Linked DNA regions of Homo sapiens: region 1 is linked to region 2. Evidence: promoter capture Hi-C in human tissues and cell types (Jung and others, 2019). All regions are on one chromosome and are shown on one strand. The core of a region is centred on a gene start or on the middle of the fragment in contact, and the rest is flanking DNA. Distances in the headings are between cores, read along the strand shown.

Evidence for each region. Contacts are between HindIII fragments. The study calls those that stand out against the background at their distance.
Region 1: a fragment that was not itself captured here is called in contact with the fragment with the promoter of LGALS3 in region 2 in 2 of the 25 tissues and cell types used here (IMR-90 fibroblasts and aorta).

What each region holds. Positions count from the first base shown.
Region 1 is chr14:55,422,487-55,427,679 of GRCh38, forward strand. TBPL2 (TATA-box binding protein like 2) reads right to left here. Exons shown (of 7, transcript NM_199047.3): 6 at 1,673-1,767. It also overlaps a transcript of FBXO34 not described here. Among named protein-coding and RNA genes, the nearest start is that of ATG14, 13 kb to the left of the region's middle. The HindIII fragment of the contact is 5,195 bases long and covers 130-5,193 here.
Region 2 is chr14:55,126,682-55,131,776 of GRCh38, forward strand. It overlaps LGALS3 (galectin 3), which reads left to right and starts at 2,571. Exons shown (of 6, transcript NM_002306.4): 1 at 2,571-2,619. RefSeq lists a silencer at 2,267-2,866 and an enhancer at 3,217-3,406. The HindIII fragment of the contact is 8,667 bases long and covers 1-3,611 here.

The sequences.
Region 1 (5,193 bases), core at 1,477-3,976, 300 kb after region 2:
AATTCGCCTGCCTCGGCCTCCCGAAGTGCTAGGATTACAGGCGTGAGCCACCGCGCCCGGTCATAAAATAGCAACTTTCTGTAGGTGGGGCACAGTGGCTCACACCTGTAGTCCCAGCACTTTGAGAGGCCAAGGCAGGTAGATCACTTGAGGCCAGAGGTTCGAGACCAGCCTAGCCAATTTGGCAAAACCCCATCTCTTCGAAAAATACAAAACATTAGCTGGGCATGGTGGCATGTGCCTGTAGTCTCAGCTACTCAGGAGGCCGAGGCAGGAGAATCACTTGAACGCTGGAGGTGGAGGTTGCAGTGAGCTGAGATCGCGCCGCCATAGTCCAGCCTGGGCAACAGAGTGAGACTCTGTCTCAAAAACAAAAACAAACAAACAAACAACAATATATATAGCAACCTTCTGTAGAATGACATAGAAAAGAGTCTGAACCATTCCCTCAAGTAGTTTTAAAAAGTGCTATTTATGCAAAAATTATTTAAAAAAAAGCCAACAGGAAAAAATAACAAATATAGCAAAGAATAATTTGTCTTTAATAGTATTATAGTAAACTCAAATCCCGAGAAAATACAAGCTAAGTAGACAAAAGGATAAGTTATGTCATGTACATATTATTTACAAGAGACAAAATGCTATTTATTGGATGTGTTGAAAAATGGTCGATTTCTGTCTCTGATTACCGGTGGGGTTAAAGTAGTGAGATAATTTTTACATATACAGTTAAAGTTTTCTTTGGTACCATTTTGTTTGGAATGCTGCCAAGCATTTGGTAAAAGATATTTAGATACATTGCATTTAAGACCATGTGATACAGAACTATGTCATATATCCCTTTAAAACAATTGGGCGATTTGTTCTAAGAACAAAATGGACATAGCCTTAAACGAAAGTCCCATTTCTGAGTGTCCACACTAATATCATAATTGTCTACAGGTAAAAGCAGCCAAATGTCTGCCCTTCATAAGTAGCAAACAAAGAAGGAACATTTACCTATCTAGCAATGGGACAATACGTTTGATTCAATAACATGTTAGAATGGGTTCAGCAAAGGTAGGTCTGCTGGCTAAAGCCATCCTGCTGCCTGATTTTGTTAGCCTATGAGCTAAGAATGGTTTTTATCTTTTTCAGCAGTTGGGGAAAAAATATTACATAACACACATAAATTATGTCACGATATGAAATTCACATTTCAGAGCCCATTCCTTTATATAATGTAACATTCAGAGCTGCTTTCACACTACGATGGCAGTGCTCAGTAATTGTGACAGACCCTGTGGCTCACAAAGCTTAAAATATTTAGTATTTGGCCCTTTCCAGAAAAGAGTTTGTTAACCCCTGTGTTAGGACCTTGTGTGGCCATTAAAAGCCTTTATGAAGAGTTTGTAACAGTAAGTTTAAGCCATATATGTTATCATGGATAATTCTGTAAAAAAATCAGGATGTAAAGATGAAATACTTAATAAAATGACATAAAAACATGAAAAAAATGTTGTTTTAGGTACTGGGACCTATGGGTGATGTTATTCCTTTCTTATTTTTCATTCCAGGTATTCTGTATAACAAGAATTACTTTACCATGGTGAACAAAGGTATTTAAAAGAATAAGCAAAGCACATGCATAGCAATTACATTTTATGAGTCAGAAAATAATCTTAGCACTTACCTGTCAACACAACTTTTCCAGATACAAAGATAAGCAACACAATTCGTGGTTTTACCATTCTATAAATAAGACCAGGAAACAGTTCAGGCTCGTAACTGTTAAGATGTAAAAGGAAAATGTTAAAAATAGCACTATTCAGCTCCTTTCCCATAACATGTAAGGCCCAGTATATTAAAGTGCATATTAAAGCAGTTGTAAATAAGTTAGCTATTTTATCAAAAACTTTTTAACTATCTTGATGAAGAGTCTTGAGTGTCCTAGGTAATATCTTATGGAAGTTAGGAACATAATTAATTTTGGGTCATAACACAAGTGCAAGCTATCCTGGATGGTTATTAGAAATCAAGGTAACTTAGGGCATCTGATTTAGTGTATTGAGAGCTTGTTGGTTAAACATCCTCTATCTTTTCAAAAAAGTCTGTTAATAAGAATACATAATCATGTTTTTCTGGGTTTCCAAATTCTCCAATAATAAACATATTTTGTATGCTTTTACGAACTGCTGAAGTTAACATTTTTAGCAGATAGAACCTAAAAATATTTCTAGGCCACTGCTATTTGTATTTGAACAGGTGCTATATAAATAAAGAAAATCCAATTATCCCGAGTTTTTACAATTCAGGATTTGTTGCTATAAATAGTAACTCATATTTACTACTAAATATAAGCTGGCCACTCCATGGAGCGAAAGATGATAGCACTTAAGAGCTTCTTCTCCACACTCCAGCCTGGAGAGGAGGGCAGATTCTTAGAAAGGCTTGAGGAACCTACCAAAAAGAAGTCAGGAAGTGAGAGGAGGTGAATAAAACTATTCTCAAAGCAGTGGCTAATGGACAAGAAATATAAGAAAAAAAGACATCCAAGCAATGGAACACTAGCATCTTTGCACTTAAAGGGTGAATCCAGACTGCATGGAAAAGCTCCATTCAGTTCAGCAATGAACAAGACCCAAAAACAACAGCAGATGTGGAACCTTTTACTGGCTCCAGAAAGGCGCATCTTGAAGTGAGTCTTGCCCATCTCAAGTATAGGAGGTCATTGTGGGTGGAACTGTCTTCTGGAACATCACTCTGTCTTACTGCAGGGAGCCTGTCAAGACTTTCTCCCACTAACCACTTCCCAACACTGGGGAGACCATGACACTAGGGGGAGCCCTGAAAAACCCTCCAGGGCTATGAGATCCAGGCCAAGAAAATGAAGGCTGGAGACACAAAAAGAAGATTTCCATTTGATCTTCCAGCTAAATTTTAAGACTTAGAAAAGAGAAAACAAAAACTTTGGTATGTAAATGATATTGAACTGCATTTAGCTTTTAGAACCATGGTTTTAAGATTACCAGTATAATGTGCTCCCAATTAGGAATATACTTCATTTTATTTATTCTCTGCCTCATTCCAAAAGAAGGCTGAGGCAGAGAAAGAGAGTGGTTTTGGTTAGGGATGGAGAACATTTCACAAAGATTGAGAATATCGAACACCTGCCAATTTCTTGGCCAACCCAACTTTGACCCATCCTTCAAGTCTCATTTTAAATGTTACTTCCCCAAGAAAATCTTCCTTGATCTCTACCCACCCCCAATTACATTAAAGACCCTGCTTTATGGTCTCATAGCCCCTGAAGGGCCTTACCTTCACAGTCACCATGTTTCATTACTGTCATTGACTTGTCCATCTTTTCTTTTAGACAGTGATCTCTATGTGGGCAAGGGACTATAGCTATATTGCTTGCCATTATCATCCTAGCATCTGCTACATGGTAGTCACCTAGATCTTATTCATATAGCAAGTATTTATATCAGGATACCTTTGAATTAAAAATTAAAGAGGGGGCCGGGTGCGGTGGCTCACACCTGTAATCCTAGTACTTGGGAAGTCGAGGTGGGTGGATCGCCTGAGGTCAGGAGTTCAAGACCAGCCTGGCCAATATGGTAAAACCTCGTCTCTACTAAAAATACAAAAATTAGCCGGGTGTGGTGGTGGGTGCCTATAATACCAGCTACTCAGGAGGCTGAGGCAGGAGAATCACTTGAACCCTGGGGGGTGGAGGTTGCAGTGAGCTGAAATCATGCCACTTCACTCCAGCCTGGGCAAAAGAGCAAAACTCCATCTCAAAAAAAAAAAATAAATAAATAAAATAAAGAGGGAAAAATTCTCATTGACAACTGTGGAAATGATTATGTCATAGAAAGATTACCAGAGAAAGTGCCTGGTAACAAAAGGAGATACTTGTATTATTAAATGTTGACATACAAATTTGCAGAACCTGGGAAACTGAATGACCTTAGGGGTTTAACACAAGGCAAATTTGGCCTGATAATTATAACTGATTATGTAGCATGGTTCCCCACAGAGCTACAGACAATTAGAGAGGCCTCATGTTAAAAATTCAAATCTTCTAAGAGGTGTTTTTAATGTTCCCAGTGTCAAGAATACACACTCTGGAGTTGTAATCCATAACCTGAGGCTGACAGCCGAATGGAGAGGATGAGGGGGAGGCAAGAATGAGACTAGAAATAGAAAGTTGTGGGAATACAAAGCAAGCTTCCTGGCCAGATTAAAAAAAAAAAAAGAAAAGAAAAGAAAAGATGACTGAGATCATAAAACTGTCCCAGGAGGAAGATAGAACAGGGATGGGCCCACTCCGTCTGATGTATTCTCACTGCGCCTTACTGGCAACCCTTCCAGAAGCTGGTAGTAATAACAAGGGGCACCTATTCTAGACTTAGATCTGCTCTGCAAGGAAGATGCTGGTGAAAAAGAAATGAATGGACACTTGGGAAGAACCACACACATCATTTTCGAGCCCTGAATGGCCAGAAGGGAATGCTAAGTCTAATGTAGACACAACCTTAGAGTTCGGGCAGAGCTCTTGCAGATGTACACTAAGCCGATTCAGAGAAAGATAGGCTGGAGGCTCGTGACTTGAGAGTCTGGAAGATAAGACAACTTAAGCACTGGGAGACTCTTAGAAACAGGCTTTATTAGGAAATCTGCAAATTATGCCAAGATTGAAGGAAGAAAGATACCTAAAGAGGCAACATGTCTTACATGGGGGAATGGGAGGACTTTATAGGGAGCTCAGATTTTTAAAAAATGGGGTATATTTAGGCATTCAATAGCATACAGTGAAAAAACTGAAGAAAAAAGAAAACATAATCAAGAGAAAAATAAACATGTCAAAAGAAAAATAAGCATATCATAAAAGCTGAATCTCAGAATGAATGAAAATATTTTAGAAGAAAAAGGAATTTTTAACTTCCATTCAGATCATATCTGAAAGGAAAGCTAACAAATGTTAGGGAAAGCACAGCAATATGATCCCTATCTACTCTATTGACGGGATAATCATTCGATGGCCAAGAGAAGATAAGGCGTTGGAATGAAAGAACTTCAGTTCCAGCTTGGCCAAGAGAATTTAAGAGCATCTGTGATTAACCCAGGCCAAGTGCCCTAGCCCAGGTGTATATCTTGGTGAGTCAAGGGGTTTGGTGTCCATGAGTCACCCTCCATCCCTGCTCTCTG
Region 2 (5,095 bases), core at 1,321-3,820:
CTGTAATCCCAGCACTTTGGGAGGCTGAGGTGGGCAGATCACCTGAGGTAGGGAGTTTGAGACTAGCCTGACCAACGTGGAGAAACCCCATCTCTACTAAAAATTGGCCAGGGTGGTGGTGCATGCCTGTAATCCCAGCTACTGGGGAGGCTGAGGCAGGAGGAGAATCACTTGAACCTGGGAGTGGAGGTTGCGGTGAGCCGAGCAAAACTCCGTCTCAAAAAAATAAAATAAATAAATAAATAATCGGCTCTGCTTTCTTCTCCAATTACTGTCTTTCTTTCTCTTTTCTGCTTATCCTTAAAGACTTTCCCTTTTTGTTCTCATCTTCATCTCCTACTCTCTTCTGGCTCTAACTGAAGTTCTCACGCAGCTTCCCTCCTGACCTTCTGGACAGCCACCTGCTTTCCCAAGTTTCCTCCTTTCCCTCCTGTGGAGATGCCTCTCTTAGAATCCTTGCTTTTATCAGCGGCTTACAATCTCTGCATCCGTAGAAACCAGACAGCCTTTTTGTTTGAGGGCTAACACTTGCCTTGTCCCTATTTCAAATAACACAGTGAGCTGTACATAGAAGTTACTCAATGATATCTTAATTGATTTTATTGGGTTCCTTTTTACGCTTATCTTAGAAAAGGGATGTGACTTTGGATTGGGTAATAAAGAGCCGTTTATTGCATGTGTACAAATTATAAATTCCCAGGCACACCCTGATCATAGCAGGATCCTTTTGTTAGCTTTATGGGGCATGAAGTTGGCACCAAAGTATTCATGGGGATGTACAAGTAAGGAAGGGAAGCCAAAAGCATGTCTGATCATACAATCAGGTGTAAGCAAGCCCCCTAAGTAGCCAGGGCATGAACTTTGTCTATCTCTGAAATGACCAGAAGAAAAGGCAAGAGTGTGATTCATCCCTTGCCTCCACAGCAATTCATTTGGCTATCTACTTTTCTTATTACCAATGGCTAACCCTCTAAGGGTACCACTCCTGGCCATGAGGCCTCATGACTCAAAGTCTTAAGATTTATAGCATTTTCCCTGGAGACCAAGGGCATTCCTTTGGGTGATACCTTTTTACTACCCAGAGGTTAGTCATTTACTATGGGTGATCCATTCAAATAAATTGGTTGCCAGGCTACCTCTTCAGATAAGAGTTCAAACTTGCATAAATAATCCCCAGCCACACTGTGACTTCTATGTGCAAGCCTAGAGGGGACGATGTTGCAGGAACCGTGCCAACCACTAAGACACTTTCAAGTTTATCCTAGAGAATGCCAAGACAGCTTCTCAATTCCATCAAGTGAGTCCTTCACAGGAACATTTCCCTAAGTTGAAAAACTGCAGGAAATAATTTATCTTTATGTTATTAATTGGTTACTATAAGGGCTACAGGAATTATTTAGGAACCAGATGATACCTGGTTTTCTCCATAGTTTACATAAGCCAGTCCCTGCAAAGATTCTTCCCCTACCCCCCTTAATTTTTTTTTTTTTCCTCAGAGATCCTTGTTCCAACCTGCAAGGATTCTTTGGCCTGGTGCTTTTCCAGGTAAAGTGTAAGAGCCAGGATTTCTGGATTTTGTTCCTAGACATGAGTGAGCTTGGATAAGTAAATCATTTTCTCTTTTAGTCTGTTTGGGCTTCTGTAACAAAATATCATAAACTGGGTAGCTTATAGGCAATATACATTTATTTCCCACAGTTCTGAAGGTCGGGAAATCCAAGATCCAGGCCAGCAGATTTGATGTCTGGTGAGGGCCTGCTTTCTGGTTCACAGAGGGAGCCTTCTGGCTGTGTCTTCACAAGGTGGAAGTGGCAAGGGGTCTCTCTCCGGCCTCTTTTATTAGGGCACCAATCTCATTCATAAGGACCCTGCCCCTATGACCTAATCACTTCCCAAGGCCTCCACTTCCTAATACATCACCGTGAGGGTTAGGATTTCAACATATGAACTTTGGCGGGATATAAACATTCAGACTATAGCACCCTGACAGTAAAAATGAGATAATAATACTTATCTCTTTCTTCCAACAAAAAGATAAGGTGAAGTTAAAAGGAGGGTATATATATATATAATGTGAATTTCCTGTGTAAAATGTGTTAAAGAGTTGTCTGATTAATTGCTTTATAAGGGAATTGCTTTGAGACTAGGCCTATTGATCTAGAATAAGTAGTCAATTTGTAGTCAGTTCCCTAGGGAATAGACATTGAAAAGATTTTTGGTTTTGTATTCTACAAATAAAGCAACCTATTAATTGAATTCCTCTCAGCGAATTCTTCACTCAGGTGATTCTGGAGAGGGCGGGGGACAGACGCGGCCGCAGCCCAGGTCCCGGGAGCGCCACGGAACCTAACGGTGGCAGCGGAGGTCGCGCCCCTCAGTGCCCGCGCTCTCCCCGTCGGGAGCTTCCTGGTCGCCCCTGCGGCGGCGGCTCGGGGTGTCTGGCCGGCGCGGGGCTCGCCCAGCCTGGTCCGGGGAGAGGACTGGCTGGGCAGGGGCGCCGCCCCGCCTCGGGAGAGGCGGGCCGGGCGGGGCTGGGAGTATTTGAGGCTCGGAGCCACCGCCCCGCCGGCGCCCGCAGCACCTCCTCGCCAGCAGCCGTCCGGAGCCAGCCAACGAGCGGTGAGCTGCGCGGGGCGCGGGGGACGCGGCTCCGGCCGGGCAGGGGAGAGGGCGCCCGGGCGCTGCTTGGGGCGCGGTCCGGAGAGGGTTCGGCTCCCCGGGACCGGGCCGGGGCGCGCGCGGAGAGCCCCACAGCCTGTGCTCTGCCCTCCAGGAGCGGGGCGGCGGGCAGCGATCTGGGCCCGGGGCAGTCGCCTTTGATTATCGAGGGCGCTGGCGTTCGGGGAAGGTTGGCAGCACCTTACGAGACCCACACACGTCCCCGGGGCGGCACGGGCCACCTTCTGCGGAGCCTCGTGGGCTTCGCCGCCGTCGCACCTCCGCCGCCTGCGCTCTGCGGCCCCAGAGTAAGCCCCATCCGGTGACGAGCCGCAGTCTGGTCACCCCAGTCCCACCAGGTCCCGCTGCGAGGGGAGGCGGAGGGGCTCGCTCAGCAAACCAGACGGCCGCTCCAGTTTCTCTAATTGGGGTTGGAGCCCCGTCACCCTTCCCCAGATCACGGCCGCGGGGGAGCGAAGGGACTTCCCAGGACTGCATAGGGCGCCTCCCGGGACCCACAGCTTGGCTGGCCCGGCCCCTTTTGAGCATCAGCTGAGGCTGGACTTGGAGGAGATCTCGCTGTGGAGCGCGAATGAGTTCTTCCACCGGGACCAGCTGCGGCCGGGCTGCAGCCGCTGTCTGGTTGCTGATCCCACAGAAAATGGTGCTTGCCCCATGGCCTGAGTGGGCATGACCCGGCTTTGCAAAGACTGCAAACTCTAAGCTTTTCCGAATCAAATGCCCCTCCCTGCCCAGACTGTCTGTGCCCAGGAAATGGTGGGTGTGGCAAAATGTTGGTCCTAGCGTGCAGAGCCCTACCGGGGGGCTTTCACAACATGTTTGAGAGTTTATTCTGAATTATCGGGTGCTCAAATAGAAACACTAAAACGATTGCCCTCTGAGCAGTAGGCGTTCAGGTCCAGGGAGTCGGGGACGCATGGTGGAGGCTGGGACTTAGGTTTCAGCCTTACCCTTCAAGTTCGCCATGCGGGTTCCAGAGACTGCGGAATGTTTGTAAAGTGACTCTGGGAATTGGGTTGCTGCGCAATGAGGACACCTGGACCTCAGTGACTCAGGCTGTCTCTAGGATTCTGGGGAAGAAATGGGAGAAGGCTCAGTTAATTCTGAAGAAAATGAGACTGATACAATTAACTACTTGGGCACAGGGCCTGAGAAGAAAAAGCTTTCGTCAGCTTCCAAAGTTCTGATTTGTTTACCTAAGGTTTTTTTTTTTTTTGAGACGCAGTTTCGCTCTTGTTGCCCAGGCTGGAGTGCAACGGCACTATCTCGGCTCACCGCAACCTCTGCCTACCGGGTTCAAGCGATTCTCCTGCCTCAGCCTCCCGAGTAGCTGGGATTACAGGCATGCGCCACCATGCCCGGCTAATTTTGTATTTTTCGTGGTGGTGGTGGTGGGGGGGGGGGGGTCCCTCCATGTTGGTCAGGCTGGTCTCGAACCCCCGACCTCAGGTGACCCGCCTGCCTCGGCCTCCTAAAGTGCTGGGATTATAGGCGTGGGCCACTGCGCCTGGCCTACCTCAAGTTTATAAACATTTCATACTAGGAAATTGTGTGTTTCCATAAAAGGTAAAGTTGAATAATGATCATTTACTTTTCTACAACAATAGTCTCCCTTTTAGACATTGACTCTCAATCCTTAGGGTAGGGTCTCTCATTCTAAAGATGATCATACCCCATCCTTGATCTTTGGGGGACTTAAGCAACTTCCTAAATTCATAATATTTAGAGGTGATGTTTAAAATCAGCACTTAGTCCAGATTCTGGGGAGAAGTTTGATGATGGTCCTTGAATATTTAGCACTTAGAAGTGCTAGGAGGATGCCTCACTAAGTTACGTAAGAAGCAGAAGAGGACGAGTACCGCCTGATGGATTGACCCCGAAAACTAGCTGTGTCCAAGTAGAATAGGTGTCTCGCTCTGTTAAGCGGTCTTTAAACTATGATAGTTCGCTGTACTACAAATATGCATAGGTGCTTTACAAAGACTTTTCACTTAGTGAGGTCAAGAGGCTAATGCTGGTCTCATGTATAATTTAGGTACCTTTTTACATAGAACCCTCATTAGCCAGACTCTAAACCTTAACTGCAGCCAAGACCTTTGTTCATGTAGTATGCCTTCAGAATCTCGTGTTGACCTTAAATGCCAAGTGGCTTGTAAACTTATGTACTTGATACTTGTGGTAACTGATCTCAAACATAGCTCTTCTTTCCTGTGATCGTTTGGGACACAGGCTCCCACTCAAGGGTAGCTCCTTGTGTCTGGTGCCTGAACTGGATCTTCTCATTAAATTCTGAGTGGGTAACTTAAGAACCAGTCTAGGCTGTGCTTGCTGTATACTTCCAGTTCGCTATTGACCAAGTGTCATGTGTTCTCTTTTGAACTGTTCAGCTTTTCCGTAGGGGGGAAGATCAGTCATG